Linked DNA regions of Homo sapiens: region 1 is linked to region 2. The links are contacts of gene promoters, found by promoter capture Hi-C in blood cells and fetal thymus (Javierre and others, 2016). All regions are on one chromosome and are shown on one strand. Each heading gives the region's core, a stretch centred on a gene start or on the middle of the fragment in contact. The rest is flanking DNA. Distances are from core to core; before and after follow the strand shown.

Region 1 (2,700 bases), core at 20-2,519, 53 kb before region 2:
GGATATTGAGGCTGAAGTGTAGAGAGTGAAATGAAAGATAATAGAATTATGAGCCTAGGTACTCAGAAATTGGGTGATGCCATTGAAAATAATTTAAGAGCTTCCATTTCATTATGGAAAAATGATAAGTTCATTTTTTGAAGTGTTACACAGGTTAAGTATAATTTGAAATGCTTGAGACCGCAGGTGTTACGTATTTCAGAGTTTTTTGGATTTTAGACTATTTGCATATACATAATGAGATCTTGGGGATGAGATTAAAGTCTAAACACAAAATTCATTTATGTTTCGTATATACCTTATACACATAGCCTGAAAGTAATTTCATACAATATTTTCAATAAATTTGTGCATGAAACAAAGTTTGTGTACATTCAACCATCAGAAAGCAAAGGTACCGAGTGTGGAATTTTCCATTTGTAGGGTGATATCAGCACTCAAAATGTTTTGGATTTTGGAGCATTTCAGATTTCAGATTTTCAGATTAGGGATGCTCAATCTGTATTTGTATGTCAAAGGTAAATCTAAGTGAAGCCCACCTGTAGGTTGTCAAAATATGGTCAGTAACAAGTTAGAGACAGAGGTAGAGATTTTGTTTTGCATCACATTCCTATATTGTCACTGGAATAAGGTAAGTAAGTTTGAAGTGTTGCTATTCTCACCATATTCTTAACATATATTCTGGAATCTGGGTGACAAGTTAAGCTTAGTTTTCATTATTTAGAGTACTTTCACATTTTCTGATTCTGCTTTGATGTATTTTCTGATTTTTAAACTACCCTAATCTTGTATGCATTGCTGAAATGTTACAAAGGTTGGTAAGCTTATTGCTAAGTAGCCAAGTGATTCTTTCCAAAGTCATCATCCATTTTATCAGCAATAATGCTTTCTTTAATGCTTATTAATAATTACCCAAATGTTTTGAGATTGAATATGATGTTTATTATCATCTAATTGTTTTAGCAGAGTTCAAATTACTACTGATCAAATGTTGAACATGATACCCAGCCCTTCACTTTTCTCAAGATTGATATTTCCCTGAGTTCAGAGTACAACATTTTACAATTATTTTTAGAAGTTGTACATTCCTAGCAGTTGACTAGTGAACCAATTACATTCCCCTAAGAACCCATCATAACTTCAATGTCATTATAGTAATTTGCAAAAAAAAAAATTATAGTTTCTTGAGGTAAAAGGGTTAGGTCAGAGTTTTTCAACCTTGGTACCATTGACATTTAAGGCCAGATAATTCTTTGCTGCGGGGTTTGTCCTATGATTTATGGCAGCTGCCCCCAGTCTTCTTGGGACCAGGGAACAGTTTTGTGTAAGACAATTTTTCCACAGACCAGGGGCCGGGGGGAGTAGTTTTGGTATGATTCAAGTGCACTACATTTATCATGCACTTTATTTCTATTATTGCCTTGTAATATATAATGAAATAATTATATAAATTACCATAATGTAGAATCAGTGGGAACCCTTAGCTAATTTTCCTGCAACTAGATGGTCCCATCTGGGGGTGATGGGAGACAGTGACAAATCATCAGGCATAAGATTCTCAGAAGGAGCATGCAACCTAGGTCCCTTGCATGTGCAGTTCACAATAGAATTTGCACTTCTATGAGAATCTAATGCCACCGCTCATCCGACAGGAGGTGGAGCTCAGGTGGTAACTTGAGCATTGGGGAGTGGCTGTAAATACAGATGAAGCTTTGCTTATTCTCCCGCTGTTCACCTCCGGCTGCATGACCAGGTTGCTAACAGGCTGGTCCGTGGCCTGGGAGTTGGGGACCCCTACTTTATAGGATGTCTAGCAGCATCCCTGGCCTCTACCCACTACATGGTAGCAGCAGCCCCATCCTCCAAGTTGTAACAACCAAAAATGGTCCCAGACTTTGCCAAATGTCCCCTAGGGGGCAAACTCATCCCCAATTAAAACCACTTGCTTATTTAGTTCTTCCACTTATTTACATTTCTAATTTCAACTGTATTTTAAATCTTTAATGTCATATGAAATACAGCATACTACATACATGTTCTATCACCAAGGATGTAAGGGATTCTTGCTTTTTAGGTAAATGATGTTATTGGTTTAGGTCTGTATGCTTTTACAATGTGAGCCACCTTACACAAAGTGCAGAATGGTATATAGAAAAAAGTACACTAGAAACTTGTTTTTCTTCTCTCTGACAATGTCACTGAATGTTCTCAATCAAGCATTTAAAACATATTCAACATTCAGTCAACCTAGACTTATTAAGTTACTACTATGTGATTGGCACTGTTGCTACCTACTGAAGGTACAAAGATGAGTAAAATGGTCTCTATCCTCAAAGAAGTCTCAGCCAAGTGGAGAAGCTGGGCAAGGAAACAGCTACACCACAATGTAATAAATATTGTAGCTGAGGAATGGAAATTTGGGAGCTCAGAGGAAAGAGTAACTCTACCTGAGGAAATCATGGAAGACTTTTAAAAGGAAACCAAGCTGGAACAGATGCTTAAGATGAGCAGGAGTTTACCAGGCACAGAGGGAGAACAAGGACTCCAGGCAAAGGAAACAGCCTCTGCAGAGACTCAGAGCCATGGCTTTAGGGGACGATAAACATGGTGGTATGACTGGAATCGGAGAGGTGTGGGGTGATGGCTGGAGAGGAGGCTGGGAAGGCGGGCAGGATCCAGCTGCTGCAGGCCTTGAATGCC
Region 2 (2,700 bases), core at 163-2,662:
GAATGTCGTGTGAAAGAAAGGAAAAAAGAGGGCTTGAAAAGGCAAAAAGCAGTGAAAAGCAGTAGTTAAACTGTAACCCCTATCTCTACTCACCAGACCACATCCCAACCGAATCCAGCTGCACCCACCCCGTAGACCTTTGGGGCTCCTGATTGAGAGTGCAGATACAGGGCACATACTCATGCGTGGCTCCCTTCACTACTGGGTGTCAGTCTGGCCTGTGCTCAAGGTGTGGCATCTGGTTGGAGTTTCAATATGTAGGATCCACTACCAGGGTTTTCGTGAGATTAAGAAGGGTAAGGTAACCTACTGGCAAAAGGGGCTGGTATGCCCCAGGGGTTGGTTTGGCACAGCAGGATTAAAACGAAGTCAACCAAGGCTAGAGTCTGGTGTTCTTTAGTCATTCACCTCACCCTCCAGGAGGCCACCGAATGGCTTTATCTGGACAGGGACAGATCCAGGGACACAACTGGGATAACCGGTATTCCTGGTAAGCCTGTCACTGGGGCATTTGGAGGTTAGGTGGGGAAGGGACGCGCGCGTGGGGGCGGGGTGAGAGGGTACAGAGGGAGAAGGAATGATGGTGAAGGGTTTGCTGGGGCTGCAGCATCCTCATTCTGTCTCCAGGACGGATTTGGAGGCCCCAGTTTGGGGATACGGGTAGGTCTGTAACTCGCTGCGGGACTTCACCTTTGCAAGCCTCCGTTTGCTCCTCTCAAGAGGGATGGACTCTGATCTTTGCGCCCCCTTCCTGCCCTTTGATTCTGGTTCTTTGAGGGAAGCCCTGCTATGCAGTCCGGGGAAGGAAAGGCATTCTCTGCTGCAGGCGGGCCGGAATGGGACGGCCAGGAAAGCGGCCTCTGTGGCATGAATTATATTTATTTAGATACCTGTATTAAAAATTATTTTCGTTAAAAAAGGAATCCCCACCCACCAAGCTCGCGCTGGAGCTTTGCACTGCGACCGTCCGGCGGCCGCCCTTTCCCTGAACTGCGGGGTAGCCGGTGCGCAGCGCTTTCTTCCAGCACCTGACGCTTAGTTTCGCGCAGAATCTCCCTACGCCGCCCCGCCGGCTCCACGCGCCTTCCTCCTTTTCCCAGCCCCACGGCCGCCCCCCGAGGTTGCCCTCGCGGCTTCCCGGAGAGCAGGAAAACCCGGGGAGTGGAACGCGTCGAGGCGAAGGTCCCCGCAAGCCGCGCAGGGTGTCTGCGGCCGGTTGGACGCTTGCGCCCGGGGTGGGCGACTCCTCCGGGCAAGGGCGCGGGGACGGCCCGGCGCGCAAGGTTGACGGGAGCTCGTCTCGCGCCGCGGGGACGCCCGGGCGGCCCTGAAGGGGACGGGGCGGCCCCAGTCGGAGGTCGCAGGGAGCTCCGCCCCCGACTCGGTATAAGAGCTGGGCCCGGCCCACGGCGGCGGCGGCGGCGGCGGAGAGAGCTGGCTCAGGGCGTCCGCTAGGCTCGGACGACCTGCTGAGCCTCCCAAACCGCTTCCATAAGGCTTTGCCTTTCCAACTTCAGCTACAGTGTTAGCTAAGTTTGGAAAGAAGGAAAAAAGAAAATCCCTGGGCCCCTTTTCTTTTGTTCTTTGCCAAAGTCGTCGTTGTAGTCTTTTTGCCCAAGGCTGTTGTGTTTTTAGAGGTGCTATCTCCAGTTCCTTGCACTCCTGTTAACAAGCACCTCAGCGAGAGCAGCAGCAGCGATAGCAGCCGCAGAAGAGCCAGCGGGGTCGCCTAGTGTCATGACCAGGGCGGGAGATCACAACCGCCAGAGAGGATGCTGTGGTGAGTGTCGTTGACCGAAAGCATATGGTGGAAACCCAGGTGGGGCTTTGGAGACAAGCAACTCTACACGAGTTCTGGAGGAATGTGGCTCTGCTGTGAACCATAGCTTTGTAAAAAGATCCTTTGACTCATATTTGGTGGACGTTAAGGAAGAAAGGAAATTCAGGGTGTGGGAAAAGGGGTTTGCACACAGGCACGGATGGAGTAGATTGGGCAGTTTGGATTGCCTTGTGTAAAAAAGAAACAAAACAAACAAACCAACCAACCCAAAAAAGAATGCTGAAACAAGAGTTTCTTCACTGTATGTGAAATGTGAAGTTGGGCAGTTATTGACTAGGTCAATAACTGAATTTAGTGAATGGTATTAAGTGAACGAAATACATCGGTTCATAGGTAACTTGATAAAATGTACGTGGTTTGTCCTGCAAAGTAGTTTTTAATAATCATGTTCTAATGAGATCAAATGGATAAGCATTCTGCCCTCAGCTCATTAAGTGACTACCATCGCTTTTTGTCACCCCGCCTGTGTCTTTGCAGGATCCTTGGCCGACTACCTGACCTCTGCAAAATTCCTTCTCTACCTTGGTCATTCTCTCTCTACTTGGGTAAGTGAGAATGCATAGTCTTACAACACAGTTGCGCAATTTTTTATTTCCTTTCGTTCTAGCCAGTTGTATTAAGCCAACTTCCAGTTTTGTCAAGCAGTTAAAGAAATAAATCATCCAAGTACACATGCTTTAATGAAAACGTTATTTACATCGAAGATCTTTCCCCATGAGTGTTAGTTAATGCAACTTAATTATCAGATCATCGTAGTTTATGTAGATAGACAACTATCCAGACAAGATTATCAAGGAAAGGAATATTTGCCTTGTTTTTAAATTTTATGTTGCATTAGTAGCTTTGGTAAATAGACATAT

The links. Contacts are between HindIII fragments. The CHiCAGO score rates a contact against its expected background, and 5 or more counts as called.
Region 1: a contact is called between a fragment that was not itself captured here and the fragment with the promoter of SLC40A1 in region 2, in 1 of 17 cell types (erythroblasts). The highest score is 5.9, in erythroblasts.

What each region holds. Positions count from the first base shown.
Region 1 is chr2:189,632,727-189,635,426 of GRCh38, reverse strand. No RefSeq gene overlaps it. Among named protein-coding and RNA genes, the nearest start is that of ASDURF, 27 kb to the left of the region's middle. The HindIII fragment of the contact is 887 bases long and covers 826-1,712 here.
Region 2 is chr2:189,579,498-189,582,197 of GRCh38, reverse strand. SLC40A1 (solute carrier family 40 member 1) reads left to right here and starts at 1,412. Exons shown (of 8, transcript NM_014585.6): 1 at 1,412-1,780; 2 at 2,318-2,385. The coding sequence starts at 1,738. RefSeq lists silencers at 1,159-1,328, 1,399-1,458. The HindIII fragment of the contact is 14,460 bases long and covers 1-2,700 here.